Linked DNA regions of Homo sapiens: all the other regions are linked to region 3. Evidence: promoter capture Hi-C in human tissues and cell types (Jung and others, 2019). All regions are on one chromosome and are shown on one strand. The core of a region is centred on a gene start or on the middle of the fragment in contact, and the rest is flanking DNA. Distances in the headings are between cores, read along the strand shown. Region 1 has its middle 26 kb from the start of UCA1. Region 2 holds the start of CYP4F12 (cytochrome P450 family 4 subfamily F member 12). Region 3 holds the start of CIB3 (calcium and integrin binding family member 3). Region 4 holds the start of OR10H1 (olfactory receptor family 10 subfamily H member 1). Region 5 overlaps LOC124900418 (collagen alpha-1(I) chain-like).

The links. Contacts are between HindIII fragments. The study calls those that stand out against the background at their distance.
Region 1: a fragment that was not itself captured here is called in contact with the fragment with the promoter of CIB3 in region 3 in 2 of the 25 tissues and cell types used here (stomach and thymus).
Region 2: the fragment with the promoter of CYP4F12 here is called in contact with the fragment with the promoter of CIB3 in region 3 in 2 of the 25 tissues and cell types used here (small bowel and spleen).
Region 4: a contact is called between the fragment with the promoter of OR10H1 here and the fragment with the promoter of CIB3 in region 3, in 1 of the 25 tissues and cell types used here (stomach).
Region 5: a fragment that was not itself captured here is called in contact with the fragment with the promoter of CIB3 in region 3 in 2 of the 25 tissues and cell types used here (dorsolateral prefrontal cortex and spleen).

Annotation. Positions count from the first base shown.
Region 1 is chr19:15,853,201-15,856,313 of GRCh38, forward strand. It overlaps the pseudogene CLEC4OP. Among named protein-coding and RNA genes, the nearest start is that of UCA1, 26 kb to the left of the region's middle. The HindIII fragment of the contact is 7,299 bases long and covers 1-3,113 here.
Region 2 is chr19:15,671,604-15,675,006 of GRCh38, forward strand. It overlaps CYP4F12 (cytochrome P450 family 4 subfamily F member 12), which reads left to right and starts at 1,484. Exons shown (of 13, transcript NM_023944.4): 1 at 1,484-1,532; 2 at 1,926-2,124. The coding sequence starts at 1,927. The HindIII fragment of the contact is 17,744 bases long and covers 1-3,403 here.
Region 3 is chr19:16,171,928-16,175,030 of GRCh38, forward strand. It overlaps CIB3 (calcium and integrin binding family member 3), which reads right to left and starts at 1,598. Exons shown (of 6, transcript NM_054113.4): 1 at 1,498-1,598; 2 at 1,235-1,269. The coding sequence starts at 1,548. The HindIII fragment of the contact is 31,728 bases long and covers 1-3,103 here.
Region 4 is chr19:15,813,856-15,817,043 of GRCh38, forward strand. OR10H1 (olfactory receptor family 10 subfamily H member 1) reads right to left here and starts at 1,809. Exons shown (of 4, transcript NM_013940.4): 1 at 1,700-1,809. The HindIII fragment of the contact is 22,557 bases long and covers 1-3,188 here.
Region 5 is chr19:15,831,800-15,835,015 of GRCh38, forward strand. All of the region lies in intron 2 of LOC124900418 (collagen alpha-1(I) chain-like), which reads left to right. It overlaps UCA1 (urothelial cancer associated 1), which reads left to right. Exons shown (of 3, transcript NR_015379.3): 3 at 2,703-3,216. Among named protein-coding and RNA genes, the nearest start is that of UCA1, 4.5 kb to the left of the region's middle. RefSeq lists an enhancer at 3,139-3,216. The HindIII fragment of the contact is 5,632 bases long and covers 1-3,216 here.

The DNA of each region.
Region 1 (3,113 bases), core at 248-2,747, 320 kb before region 3:
TTCCTCAGACCCTTTGGAAGGGGCATGGCCCTACCGACATTTTGACTGGAAACCTCTGGCCTCCAGAACGGTGAAAGAACACATTTCTGTTGTTTTAAGCCACCCAGTTTGCAGTACTTTGCTATGGCAGCCATGGGAAAGTCATACAGTTGGCAAATGCTACATTGTTTCACTCCTTCTGAGTAGGCTTAGTGCTCATTAGCACATTCAGGGCTCTGAAAAGTCCTGCAACAAAGAAAGCAGTTTGACAACAGGTGCTGGCAAGGTTGCAGAGAAACGGGAATGCTTTTACGCTGTTGGTGGGAATGTAAATTAATTCAACCATTGTGGAATTCCTCAAAGATCTAGAACCAGAAATATCATTTGACCCAGCAATCCCATTACTGGGTATATGCCCAGAGGAGTATAAATCATTCTGTTACAAGGATACATGCACGCCTGTGTTCATTGAAGCACTATTTAAGACATGGAATTAACCCAAATGACCATCCATGATAGACTGGATAAAGAAAATGTGGTACGTATACACCATGGAACACTATGCAATCGTAAAAAGGAACGAGATCGTGTCCTTTACAGGGATATAGATGGAGCTGGAAGCCATTATTTTCAGTGAACTAATGCAGGAACAGAAAACCAAACACAGCGTGTTCTCACTTATAAGTGGGAGCCAAACAATGAGAACACATGGACACAGGGAGGGGAACAACACACAGTGAGGCCTGTCAGGAGGTGGGGTTGGGGGAGGGAGAGCATTAGGAAAAATAGCTAATGCATGCTGGGTTTAATATCTAGGTGATGAGTTGATAGGTGCAGCAAACAATCATCGCACACATTTACCTATGTAACCAACCTGCATATCCTGCACGTGTACCCCAGAAATTAAAATTCAAATAAAATTTAAAAAAGATTATGACTCTCTCTGAAGGCTCAGATGATTGTTAGCACTTTTTATCAATAAAGTATATTTAAATTTAAAAAAAAAGAGTTTGACATTGAACCCATAATTTCTCAAGCACCAAACTGGGAACACTCTTGTCAAGTAACAAAATAACTATAACTAGGATAATAGAAAAGATGTCGGCTGTGCGCGGTGGCTCACGCCTGTAATCCCAGCACTTTGGGAGGCCGAGGCCGGCGAATCCCCTGAGGTCAGGAGTTTGAGACCAGCCTGGCCAACATGATGAAACCCCGTCTCTACTAAAAATACAAAAAATTAGCTGGGTGTGGTGGCAGGTGCCTGTAATGCCAGCTACTCAGAAAGCTGAGGCAGGAGAATCGCTTGAACCCAGGAGGCAGAGGTGGCAGCGAGCCAAGATCGCACCACTGCACTCCAGCCTGGGCAACAAGAGTGAAACTCCATCTTAAAAAAAACAAAAAACAGAAAGGATATCAGGCAGTTTGGGAGCTACTACGGGTACTTCATTGTGAATGAATGAAAGAGAAACACCTACAGTGGTCATAACTTACTGCCTGAAAGCCATGCCTGCCTCTTAGGGGAGACTATCTTTGGTGTCAAAGGAGATACTCACATGTAGGTGGGGGCTGAGCCATCCATCCACCTGTGGGCACTTCCTTGGCCATCTTTGAAGAGGCCTATCCAGGATGTCGCCTGGTTAGTTGATGTCAGGAAGTCCTGGAAGGAAGAAGTTACATTTGGGAGGTGGAATTCCTTGGAAGCTGAAAGGATGGAGGCAGGGGTGTACAGAGGGCGAGAGGAGTAAGTTGCAGAGATCACAGTTAGATGGGCAGGCAGACAGAGGCAGGCAGGGAATTCACTGCCCTTGAATCTTGACTTTGAATCTCAGATCTACTATGTATTAGGTTGGTGCAAAAGTTATCGTGGTTTTACCACTATAGAAAACAGTGTGGAGATTCCTTAAAGAACTGAAAATAGGGCCGGACACGGTGGCTCACGCCTGTAATCCCAGCACTTTGAGAAGCCAAGGCGGGTGGATCACCGGAGGTCAGGAGTTCGAGACCAGCCTGACCAACATGGAGAAATCCCGTCTCTACTAAAAATACAAAATTAGCTGGGCATGGTGGCACATGCCTGTAATCTCAGCTACTCGGGAGGCTGCAGCAGGAGAATTGCTTGAAGCTGGGAGGCGAAGGTTGCGGTGAGCCGAGATCACACCATTGTACTCCAGCCCGGGCACCAAGAGCAAAACTCTGTCTCAAAAAGAAAAGAAAAGAAAAAAAAGAACTAAAAATAGAACTACCATCTGATCTACCAATCCCACTACTGGGTATCTACCCAGAGGAATAGAAGTCATTATACGAAAAAGATATTTGCACAAGCACTTTTATAGCAGCACAACTCACTATTGCAAAAATATGGAACCAGCCCAAACGCCCATCAATCAATGAGTGGATAAAGAAACTGTGAGATAGATATATACTGTGAGATATATATATACTGTGAGATATATATATACACATATATACACACATATATAATATATACACATATGTATACTGTGAGATATATATACACATACACATATGTGTGTATGTGTACATATATACATGTGTGTATATATACATATATACATATATAATATGTGTGTATATATATACACATATATACACGTGTGTATATATACACATATACATATATACACGTGTGTATATATACACATACATACATATGTATATATGTGTATATGTATGTATATATGCACACACAGTGGAATGCTACTCAGCCATAAAAAGGAATGTATTAATGGCATTTGCAGCAACCTGGATGGAATTGGAGACCATTATTCTAAGTGAAGTAACTCAGGAATGGAAAACCAAACATCGTATGTTCTCTCATAAGTGGGAGCTAAGCTATGAGGATGCAAAGACATAATAATGACACAATGGACTTTGGGAACTTGGGGGTAAAGGGTGGGAAGGGGTGAGGGATAAAATTAGGTTCAGTGTATACTGCTCAGGTGATGGGTGCACAAAATCTCACAAATCACCACTAAATAACCTACTCATGTAACCAAGTACCACCTGACCTCAGGTGATCCACCTGCCTCCACCTCCCAAAGTGCTGGGATTACAGGCGTGAGCCACCGTGTCCGGCCCTATTTTCAGTTCTTTAAGGAATCTCCACACTGTTT
Region 2 (3,403 bases), core at 234-2,733, 500 kb before region 3:
GTGGAACATCTGGCACACAGTAGGTGTGCTTTATTTAGAGCACCTGGCACACAGCAAGCATGGTTTATATAAAGGGCCAGGGACTCAAGATACAGGATTTGTGAAGGGCTCCCAGCATACAGTAGACAGTATTTATGTGGAGCTCCTGGCACACAGTAGGTGCACTATATGTAGAATAGCCAGCACACAGTAGACAAGATTTATGTAGATTACTTGATGCAGAGTAGGTGCGCTTTCTGTGGGTCACCAGGTACGTAGTACACATGCTCAATGTGGAGCACCTGACACACAGTAGGTATGCTTTATATACAGCACATGGCACAGAGTAGGCACGCTTTATATGAAGTACTCTGCATAAAGTAAGCTTACATTATGTACAGCATGCTGCACACAGTAGGTGAGCTTTATGTGGCATACCTGGCACATAGTAGACAGAATTTATGTACAGTATCTGATACACAGTAAGTGCACTTTATATAGTGAAACTGGCACACAGTAGGTGCACACAGTAGTGCTTTCCGTACAGTCTTTCGCATGGAGTAGAGACAGGCACACAGCAGCTCAAGTGCTAGTTGTCATCCCCTTCCCTTCAGTCCCTCTTTTTGGAGCTCCCTTTTCTTAGGAGCCTTCCTCCGTCGCCCTCTAAGGCCTCATCTGACATCCCATTTCCCAGATGGGAAGCCTGAGCCCAGGATGGCCACACTGCCCACAGTCAGAGAAAGGACAGGGCAGAACAAGGACTCCACTCGGGATCCCCTTGCTCTGCCCTCCCCTGCCTGGACCCCGTCAGCTCAAGGCCCCTCTCAGCCTCATCCCCTGTGCCTCCGCTCTGTCCTCCTAAGCTGAGCCCAGCTTCTAGGTTTGCTCCTCCAGCTGGGCTCTTTATCCCCAGAATCTGACGAAGGTAATCCTCAGCGGGGTTGGGGCTGGATTCTTTCTTCCTGCTTCAAGCAGTCAGGCCTCAACTCAGGCCCTGGGCTGCCAGGAGGCAGGACTTGAACTCTTGCCAGGCTGTGAAGCCAGAGATGAGAGGCTTCTGTCTCTGAATCTCCTAAGTCTGCACCAAGATGTAGTGCCTGACATCCTCCCCGCCCATGTTTGGAGAGGAGCCCAGATGATCTGGGACAAGGGTTGGCCTGGCCCAGCTCAGCTGGCTGCCAACTGTCATGATAAGTATATGCTTTTATCTGAACACCCTTGTCTTGGAAGGGCAGGGTGGAGGTAAACTTGGGGTTCAGAGTCCCCTCTAACCACCCTCCAACTTCCCCTGCAAACTCCCAAGAAGGTACTGAGACCTGAGAATTCAGTGCTCGTGCTGGGGCACCCTGAGCTGCACCCAGTGGGCCCAACCCCAGGTTTTGGCTGGCTGCCCAGGCACGGAAGACACACCCAGGCTGTGGGGATTGGCTGCCTCAGCCCAGCCCAGCCCAGCCCCGCCTCCTACGGCCTTCCCTAGATCAGGGGCCAGGGCCAAAGACCTCCCAGCAGAAGAGGAGAAGAGGTTGTGTGGGACAAGCTGCTCCCGACAGAAGGTACCAGGCTGGGGGTGGCAGGGCTGGAAGGTCCTGGCCTGGGATGAAGAGGGGACTGCCTAAGGCTGGGGTGGCTCCAAGATGCTGGCATGGGAAACTGGGGGTTTCCTGGTAACTGGACTCCTAGCAAACTCCCAAGGATTCAGGTGGGGCCCTTCTGGACTCTAATCGGCCCATCTCTTTCCCTTTCTGTGTGGTTACCAGGTTACTGGAGGCCACTTAGTTGTTGGTTTTGGTTGGGACTTTCTGGACTTCAGATCTCAGCCCTCGTTTACTCACCCCTGAGCCCTCCCTGCCCTGCCCCCAGCAGTTCCTGACTTCGCCCCTATACACTGTCCCCGGAGCTCTTCCCTGGGCCTCAGGTCCTCACCCTGCATCCCCTCTGCCCTGCAGGATGTCGCTGCTGAGCCTGCCCTGGCTGGGCCTCAGACCGGTGGCAACGTCCCCATGGCTACTCCTGCTGCTGGTTGTGGGCTCCTGGCTACTCGCCCGCATCCTGGCTTGGACCTATGCCTTCTATAACAACTGCCGCCGGCTCCAGTGTTTCCCACAGCCCCCAAAACGGAACTGGTTTTGGGGTCACCTGGGCCTGGTGAGTGTGACAGCAAAATGTGTCTGGGGTCTCAGGGTGGATGGACTTCCAGAGGAGCAGGAATGGGGCTCAGTGAGCTAGGTATTGATGGTGGCTGGGGTCTGCGACCCCAGAGAAGCAAGAGAGATGGCTCACTCATTCCTCTGCTAACTCACTCATTCCTCTACCCACTCACTCCTCTACCCACTCACTCACTCCTCTACCCACTCACTCACTCCTCTACCCACTCACTCATTCCTCTACCCACTCACTCATTCCTCTACCCACTCACTCCTCTACCCACTCACTCACTCCTCTACCCACTCACTCACTCCTCTCCTCACTCACTCATTCCTCTCCTCACTCACTCATTCCTCTACCCACTCACTCACTCCTTTCCTCACTCACTCACTCCTCTCCTCACTCACTCATTCCTCTCCTCACTCACTCATTCCTCTCCTCACTCACTCATTCCTCTACCCACTCACTCACTCCTCTACCCACTCACTCAATCCTCTACCCACTCACTCACTCCTCTACCCACTCACACATTGCCCTCCTCACTCACTCATTCCTCTCCTCACTCACTCATTCCCCTCCTCACTCATTCCTCTCCTCACTCACTCATTCCTCTACCCACTCACTCATTCCTCTCCTCACTCACTCATTCCTCTACCCACTCACTCATTCCTCTCCTCACTCACTCATTCCTCTCCTCACTCGCGCATTCCTCTCATTCGCGCATTCCTCTCATTCACTCATTCCTCTCCTCACTCACTCATTCCTCTCCTCACTCTTATTCGTCTGCTCACTCACTCATTCCTCTGCTCACTCATTCCTCTCCTCATTCACTCCTTCCCCTCATCACTCACTCATTCCTCTGCCCACTCACTCATTCCTCTACCCATTCACTTATTCCTCTATCCACTCACTTTTTGCTCTCCCCACTCACTCATTCCTCTCCTCACTCACTCATTCCTCTCCTCATTCACTGATTCCTCTACCCACCGACTCATTCCTTTCCTCATTCATTCATTCCTCTGCAGTTCCATGCCAAACCTTTCTCACCTCCCTGTCCTCCCACCTCAGCCTGCTTGGATCCTTTTCCTGCCTGTCTTCCCTACCGTAGTGCCCCTCCCAGAGGCTCCTGTATGGTTGTGGGGTGCACAGAGCAGGGCTCTCCTGGCATTCCCACCTTCTCCACTGCTGGACTTGAAGCCTTCTGAGCCCCGATAGACAGGCTGCTCCCTGCATGGCCCATTTGCTTGTATCTGCCCATCTCTGGGCTGCTGCTTTCCCG
Region 3 (3,103 bases), core at 348-2,847:
AGCTCCAAGTTCATGGGTCGGGGCCCCTGGGCAATGGCCCCACAGGCCGAGTGATGATGTGGGATACTCATCTGTGCCCATCGTGCTGGGTCACGCCAGGGACCTGCAGCAGCCTTGGGCCACCTCCTCACACCCTCATCTTAATGCCAAGCCCACAACCCAGACTGGGCTCTGGACTTTGCACCTGGGCTCCCAGCCTCAAGTCCCAGTCTCAGGAGAATCTTTATCTTTCATTTTGTTTTTCTGAGGCAGAGTCTAGCTCTGTCACCCAGGCTGGAGCACAGTGGCGTGATCTCGGCTCACTGCAACCTCCACCTCCCAGGTTCAAGCAATTCTCCTGCCTCAGCCTCTTGAGTAGCTGGGATTACAGGCACCCACCACCTCGCCCAGCTGATTTTTGTATTATTAGCAGAGATGGGGTTTCACCATGTTGGCCAGGCTGATCTTAAACTCCTGACCTCAGGTGATCCACCCACCTTGTCCTCCCAAAGTGCTGGGATTACAGGCATGAGCCACCGCGCCCAGCCTCAGGAGAATCTTTCTAACGTGCTGATGGTCTCTCCCCTGCTCATGCATGCTCCATAGCTCCCTGCCACCCTTGGGAGAAAGCCCAAGCTCATCAGCCTAGAGACTGGGACAGTATGACAAGATGTGACTTGTCAGCTTCTCCATCTCTGCCTCTGTCCACTGACCACACCTGCCCCCCTTCCCCATTTGAGTCCCAACAAATTGGAAATACCAGTTGGGCATGGTGGCTCACACCTGTAATCCCAGCACTTTGGGAGGCTGAGGCAGGGGGATCGCTTGAGCCCAAGGGTTTAAGACCAGCCTGGGCAACATAGTGAGAGCCCCATCTCTATAAAAAAATACAAAAATGAGGTACATGTGGTGGCTCGCACCAGTGGTCCTAGCTACTCGAGAGGCTGAGGTGGGAGGATCACCTGACCTTGGGAGATCGAGCCTGCAATGAGCCATGATTGCACCACTGCACTCCAGCCCAGGCAATAGAGACAGACCCTGTCTCAAAAAAAAAGAAAAGAAGGAAGGAAGGAAGGAAGGGAGGGAGGGAGGGAGAGAGAGAGAGAAAAGAGAAAGAAAGAAAGAAAGACTACTTACACACACACACACACACACACACACACACACACACACACACACCAAATTGCAAATATCCTCCAGCAATGAATAGAAAGTTGTTTTTCCAGATCTTCTCTCCCTTCCTCCCTGGACTGACCTCATGATCTCCTTCCTTGTGAAAAATGTGCAGTCCTGTGGAGAGAGGTGTTGTCTTAACCCGAACCCTGCCTCTGGGGCCTCCTCCCACGGCCTCCTCCCTCCACCCCACACTCACACAGATGGCCTGATGCTGCCACACACAGAGCAGAACCAGGAACCCAGGCGGACGGTACACCCAGATGAAGGCATTCTGTTCCCATTTCCCAGACCACGGAACCAAAGTTGTCAAACCCACTGAGGACCCATCCTGCCCCCCTCTACCTGATACGCTTCCAGCTGCTCGTGTGTGAAGACTGTCTGCTTGTTGCCCATGGTGTGAACCACAGCCCAGACTTGGGGATGCACCCCAAAGGCTCCCAGCTTCCTCGGGGCCACACGGGTTGCCAGGCTGTTGTGTACCAGTGTCTGGGCAAATCTCCCTGCCCTGGCTGTCACCCACCCACCTACGCCATCACCCCCTGCTTGATGAGACTCAAATTACAGCCAGGCTCTCTGGACAACAGCCTGAATGTGTCCATGGGTAAGGATAAGGGCTGTGGGATGTCACAGAGAAGACCTCAGTGGGGAGGCCACATCTGCCACCACAAGGTGAGGCTGGGGTTATGGGGCACACTCAAGAGACAGGCAGGGTATACAGAAGGGCTATGGGCACACTGCAGCTCAAATCCCAGCTCTCTGCCCACTAGCTGTGTGGCCCTGGGCAAGTCACCTGACTTCTCTGAACCTCATTCATGAGATGAAAATTACATTATACCTACCTCATAGGGTCATTCTCAGGATCTGAGATTTAAAAAAAAAAAAAAAAGGTTTTGACTGGGCAAGGTGGCTCACACCTGTAATCCCAGCACTTTGGGAGGGCCAGGCAGGCGGATCACCTGAGGTCAGGAGTTCAAGACCAGCCTGGCCAACACGGCAAAACCCCATCTCTACTAAAAATACAAAAATTAGCTTGGCATTGTGACACATGCCTGTAATCCCAGCTACTCCAGAGACTGAGGCAGGAGAATTGCTTGAACCCAGGAGGTGGAGGTTGCAGTGAGCCGAGATCCCGCCATTGCACTCCAGACTGGGTGACAGAGTAAGACTCCATCTCCAAAAAAAAAAAAAAGGTTTTGGCTGGGCGAGGTGGCTCATACCTGTAATCCCAGCACTTTAGGAGGACAAAGCATGAGATTCACTTGAGGCCAGGAGTTCAAGATCAGCTTGGGCAGCATGGCAAGGCCCTATCTCTACTAAAAATACAAAAATTAGCTGGATGTGGTGGTGCATGCCTGTGGTCCCAGCTACTCAGGAGGCTGAGGTGGGAGGATTGCTTGAGCCCAGGAGTTTGAGGCTGCAGTGAGCCATGATTGCATCACTGCATTGGGAACATAATGGTGAACAAGCTAGATGAAGTTCTGGGGTGTGCATTGACATTATTATTTTATTACATTTTATTTTTTTGAGACAGTCTCACTCTGTTGCCCAGGCTGGAGTGCAGTGGTGTGATCTCGGTTCACTGCAATCTCTGCCTCCCAGGTTCAAGTGATTCTCCTGCCTCAGCATCCCAGGTAGCTGGGACCACAGGTGTCCACCATGCCAAGCTAATTTTTTTTGTATTTTTTTTTTTTGAGACGGAGTCTCGCTCTGTCACCCAGTCTAGGGTGCAGTGGCGTGATCTCGGCTCACTGCAAGCTCCACCTCCCGAGTTCAGGCCATTCTCCTGCCTCAGCCTCCCGAGTAGCTGGGATTATTACAGGCGCCCACCACCACGCCTGGCTAAGTTTTGTATTTTTAGTAGAGACAGAGTTTCACTATGTTGGCCAGGCTGGTCTCGAACTCCTGACCTCAGGTGATCCACCCGCCTCGGCCTCCCAAAGTGCTGGAA
Region 4 (3,188 bases), core at 559-3,058, 360 kb before region 3:
AAACAGAGAGAGGAAAGAGAGGTAGGGAGAAAGAGAGGACAGAGGGGAAAGAGAAGAAAAAGGTGAGAAGAAAGAGAGAGAGCAAGCAAGCCCACTGTCTAGCACTGACAGGAACACCCGGTGGGGCCAGTTCTCCACTCAGAGACTCTAGGGCTAAGCGTGGCTGTGGACAAGTCCTGCCACAGACATCCCTAGAGCAGGGTTTCCTGCCTTCAGCATTAGGGACGCTAGGGGCGAATCATTCTCTCTCAGAGGGGTGTCCTGTGCACTGCAGGAGACTGAGCAGCATTCTTGGTCTCCACCCACCAGATAGATACCAGCAGCACTCCCCAGTCACGACAATCAGAAATGTCCTTATACGTTGTCACGTGTCTCCTGGGTGACAGCATCACTCCATGGGCCAGGCCTGTCTTGTCTCTGAGACCCCATCTGGCCTTAACTCTCACCCATCCTGGCTCTCTCTTCTTAGTGAAGCTGTCTGGCCTCCCCTCTCTTCCACTTAAGCCACCACTTCCCTCTCTTTTCTCTCCATCTTCTCATCCCCAGCTCCTAACCATTCCCTCACCACCTGCTCCCATTGACGCCTCCCTTGTGTGTGTGTGTGTGTGTGTGTGTGTGTGTGTGTGAGAGAGAGAGAGAGAGAGAGAGAGAGAGAGAGAGAGAGAGAGAGAGAGAGAGACAGGGTATCCCTCTGTCACCCAGGCTGGAGTGCAGAGGCACAATCACAGCTCACTGCAGCCTTAACTTCCTGGGCTCAAGCAATCCTCCCACCTCAATCTCTGGAGTAGCTACAGGTGCCTGCCATTCCTGGCCAATTTTTGTATTTTTTTGTACAGACAGGGTCTCACTATGCTGCCCAGGCTGGCCTCAAACTCTTGGACTCAAGTGATCCTCCCACCTTGGCCTCCCAAAGTGCTGGGATTGCAGGCATGAGCCACTGCACCCGGCCCACCCTGATTCTTTACACCCTGGGGTGGTGGCTGGAGCTTCTGAACCCTGAATCCTCTTTCTCTCTTTTCTCCGCCTCTTCCCAATCCTTTTTCCGTAGACTTCTTGCCTGGACAGACCGAGAAGAGAGGTTAAAATCAAACCATCACCTTGGGTCACATTGAGCATTGGCTGTCTTCTCTCTGCACCTGTTACCTCCCCCATCCAAGGGACCTACCTCATGAGGCAGCAGGAGCTCTAAAGAAGGCAAGTCCTGGCTGGGCACGATGGCTCATGCCTGTAATCCCAGTACTTTGGGAAGCCGAGGCGGGTGGATCACGAGATCAGGAGTTCAAGACCAGCCTGTCCAGCATGGTGAAACCCCTGTCTCTACTAAAAATACAAAAAATTAGCCAGGCATGGTGGCACGCACCTGTAGTCCCAGCTACTCAGGAGGCTGAGGGAGAAGAATCGCTTGAACCTGGCAGGCGGAGGTTGCAGTGAGCCGAGATTGCGCCACTGCACTCCAGCCTGGGCTACAGAGCGAGATTCCGTCTCAAAAAAAAAAAAAAAAAAATAGAAGAAGGTAAGTCCTGCTAAGCAAACAGCACACTGACTAAGACGTGGTGAGTGGCCTCTGCCTGTCACCCACTGCCCTGTAGACTCACATTGCTAAAGGAGTAATATAAACAGGTGGTTTCTTGGAGTCCCTGGCAGGTGCTGGTTCCCCAGGTCTCTCCTGGTCAGGTGGCTGAGAGGGGAGGTGACTCACCTGGGACTCCAGGCATCTGCTTCTGCTTCATCCCAGTAGGAGGCTCTAGTTTGGAGTTTCTCCACAGGTGGGAGCTGACCAGGTGTGGGCTGCACCAAGCAGCCACACCAGCTGAGCCGGGGGCTTGACTGAGCCCAAATGCGATTATTTATCCCTCCCTGACTCCCTGCCCACCGGCTTCCCTCGCTGTGGTCCTACTGTCTCTGTCTCCGCTACAGGGATGCTGGGACCCCAGGGACCCTGCCAGAGAGGAGGCAACCTCAGGGAATCTGTATCCTCACTTTCCCATTCCCCCCGCCTGCCAGGGGTGAGTCAATTCCCTGAGCTTGTCAAGAGCTTGAGCAGAGTCTAGTGCTCTACAGATTTGGGGTTTGGGCCCATGACTGTTGAAATTGACAGGAGGGCAGCCCTGCCATTGCCCCCAGGGACTGCAGAGGCTGCCTTGATATGCCCCGTCACCTTCATTCTTCTCCAACTGGGTCATTTGCCCAACTAAATGTCCTTTAAAATAATTTTTTAAAACCAACACACACACACGTATTTGTTTTTATTTTTATTTTTTGAGACAGGGTCTAGCTCTGTTGCCCAGGCTGGAGTGCAGTGGTGTGATTATGGCTCACTGCAGCCTCAACCTCCCAGGCTCAAATGATTCTCCTGCCTCAGCCTCCTGAGCAGCTGGGAGTAAAGGTGCTTGCCACCACACCTGGGCTAAGTTTTAATTTTTCTGTAGAGATGGGGTCTCGCTTTGTTGCCCAGGCTGGTCTTGAGCTCCTTGGCTCAAGGGATCCTCCCACCTTGACCTCTCAAAGTGCTGGGATTACAGCTGTGAGCCACCATGCCTGGCCTGTTTCTTCTTATTATGTAATTGAAATGCTACATACAAAGCAGCAAACCATGCAATGGCCAGCCAGGCAATCGTGACGGTGAATTTAATGGGTATCCCTTCAGATCTTCATGAGCATGTAGGATGTGAAAACAATGCAAACCCATAAAATCAGAGTTCTGTTGTGCATTATTGTTGCTTTCGCTTCGTTCTGCTTTTGAGGTGAAATTCACATAAAATAATCAACCACTTTAAAGTATACAATTCCCTGGGATTGAATGCATTCACAATGTTGTGTGGCCGCCGCCTCTGTCTAGTTCCAAAATGTTTTCATCACCTAATACCCATTAGCAGCCACTCCCCTACCCCACCCAGTCCTTCAAAACCACCAATTTGTTTTCTGGCTCTGGCTCTATGGACTTACCTATTCTAGACATTTCATATAAATGGGACTATATACTACTATATATAACGATGCATTATGATTGCCCCTGTGAGTAGCCACGGCACTCCAGCCATTTTGTCAACACAAAAATGTCGACATTGCCAAGACTGAGAAACTTTGGTCTGCATAAACTCACACAGAGTTCACTCTAAGACGCTGAGTGAAAAACCAAGTTACGGAAAGATATCTACGGGAGAATCAGATCTGCATTTTAAAAACAC
Region 5 (3,216 bases), core at 531-3,030, 340 kb before region 3:
CCCAGCCCGCAGCAGGCTTTAAAGGGAACTGAAGCCTGTTATCACTTGCCTGTTACAACGTGGCCTTTTGAAGCCTACAAATTCTCCTTACAACTCCCCTATCCTACCCATCCAGAAACCGGACAAGTCCTAGAGGCTAGTTCAAGACCTTCACCTCATAAATCAGATTGTCCTTCCCATCCATCCTGTTGTGCCAAACCCTATACTCTCCTCTCCTCGACACCCCCTTCCACAACTCATTATTCTGTTATCCACCTCAAAGATGCCTTCTTTACCATCCCCTTGCATCCCTCCTCCCAACCTCTTTTCACCTTTACTTGGACTGACCCTGACACCCACCAGTCCCAGCAATTCACCTGGATTGTCCGACCCCAAAGTTTCAGGGACAGCCCACACTACTTTGGTCAGGCCCTCTCTCATGACTTTCTTTCTGCCCATCTGCCTCCCACCTTATTCAATATGTTGAAGACCTTCTTCTTTGCAGCCCTTCTTACCAATCTTCCCAGCAGGACACTATCCTATCCTACTTCTTCAATATCTCTACTCAAAGGGGTACTGAGTATCCCCCTCTAAAGCTCATATTTCCTCCCCTAGTGTTACATATCTCGACATAGTCCTCCATCAACATACACGCACTCTTCCTGCAGACTGTGTTCAGTTAATCTCCCAGACCCTATTCCCCACCACCAAACAACAACTCCTTTCCTTCTTAGGCGTTGTTGGATACTTCCGACTCTGGGTACCAAGGTTTTGCCATTCTAACCAAACTGCTTTACAAACTCACTAAAGGTAATTTAGCTGATCCCATAGACCATAAGTCCTTTCCCCATGCTTCCTTTCATTCTCTCAAAAAGGCCCTAGAAACAGCTCCCACACTAGCACTCCCTGACTTGTCCCAACCTTTTTCCTTACACACAGCTGAAACACAAGGCTGTGCTGCTGGAGTTCTCACACAGGAGCCAGGCCCACGACCTATAGCCTTTCTATCCAAACAACTTGACCTCACAATTCTAGGCTGGCCCTCATGTCTACATGTGGTGGCAGCTGCCGCTTTAACACTTCCAGAGTCTCTCAAAATCACAGGCTATGCTCCACTTACCCTCTACAGTTCTCACAACCTTCAAGCATTAATATCCTCCTCACACCTTTCACACTTGCTGTCTGCCCCTCGACATCTCCAGCTCTATTCACTCTTTATTGAAACCCCAACAATAACTACTGCCCATGGGCCCGATTTCAACCCAGCTTCTCACTTAGCACCCAACACAAGTCCTGGCCAACATGATTGTATCTCCCTAATACACATAGCATCTTCCCCCTTTCCTCATATTTCTATTTTTCCAATCCCAAATCCAGACCACACTTGGTTTATTCATGGCAGTTCCTCTAAACCCAGTCAAATCTCGCCAGCTAAAGCTGGTTATGCTGTCGTGTCCCATACCTCTATTATTGAGGCTGCTGCACTTCCTCCCTCCACTACTTCCCAACAAGCCAAACTGATTGCTTTAACTTGTGCACTCTCTGTCGCCAAAGGAATGCACATTAAAATTTATATTGACTCCTAATATGCTTTCCACATCCTCCACAACCATGCTACCCTTTGGACTGAAAGAGGTTTTCTCACCACACAAGGCTCTTCCATTATCAATACCTCTCTAATAAAGGCCCTCCTTAATGCTGCTCTCTTGCTGGCCAAAGCTGGGTTCATTCATTGTAAAGGACACCAGAAACCAACTGATCTTATTGCTAAAGGAAATGCCTACGCCAACAGGACAGCAAAAGAAACAGCAAATGCCTCCACGCCTGCAAATATTCTAGCCCTCACCCCAAAAGGCTAGTACTTTTCTTTCTTCTCTATCACCCCCACCTACTCCTCTTCTAAAAAACCTGCTCTACCAGTCTTTTCCAACTCAGGGCAAGTGGTTCTTAGATCATGGAAAATTCGTTCTTCCTGCCTCACAAGCCCAGTCTACTCTCTCTTCCCTTCATGACCATTTCCATATAGGATATAAGCCTCTGGCTGGCCTCCTACAGCCCCTCATTTCCATCCCATCATGGAAATCCATCCTTAAAACCATCACCTCTCAATGCTCTGTCTGCCATGCCACCAACCCCCGAGGTCTTCTCAGGCCTCCTCCTTTTCCTACGCATCAGGCTCATGGATTTCCTCCGACACAAGATTGGCAAATTGACTTTATTCATATGCCGCGTGTCTGTAAATTTAAATATCTCCTGGTTTGGGCCAATACCTTCACCGGATGGGTCGAGGCCTTTCCCACTAGCTCTGAAAGGCTACTACAGTCATTTCTTCCCTTCTGACAGATATAATCCCCCAATTTGGCCTCCCTACTTCCACAGTTTCTCAGGCTCTTGGTATTCAGTGGAAACTTCATACCCCCTACCGTCCTCAATCTTCAGGAAAGGTAGAACGGATGAATGGTCTTTTAAAAACACACCTCACCAAGCTCAGCCTCCAACTTAAAAAGGACTGGACAGTACTTTTACCACTTGCCCTCCTCAGAATTAGGGCCTGTCCTTGAGAAGCCACAGGGTACAACCCATTTCAATTTTATATGGATGCACCTTCTTACTCAGCCACAATCTTGTTCCAGACACCAGCCCCCTGGGCAACTATCTTCCAGTCCTCTAGCAGGCTAGACAGGAAATTTGCCAAGCTGCTAATCTTCTCTTGCCTACTCCAGATTCCCAGCCATATGAAGACACCCTAGCTGGACGATCAGTCCTTGTCAAAAGTCTGACCCCTCAAACTCTACAGCCTCAATGGACCAGACCCTACCCGGTCATTTATAGCACACCAACTGCCGTCCATCTGCAGGACCCTCTCCATTGGGTTCACCATTCCAGAATAAAGCCATGCCCATCAGACAGCCAGCTTGATCTCTCCTCTTCCTCCTGGAAGCCACAAGATTAGGCCGAGAGCCGATCAGACAAACAACCTACAACCCTTAAGCTCCTGGCAGCGCCCAGCCAAGGCCATGCTTCCTTGCAACACTCCTTCCAAATGGCCATCCCAGCATGCTTCCAAGCAGGCTTCATCCGTTCCTCTGGACCCTCATCTCTTAAGACCTGCCGCCTATAAAAAGGATTATATCTTGAGACCCTATCCTCTAAAATTTTTTCCACACCCAAAACAAAAAATCTCTGGGTCAAAAGTCTAAAACGCTTAGGCTGGCAACCATCAGATCCTTGCCCATG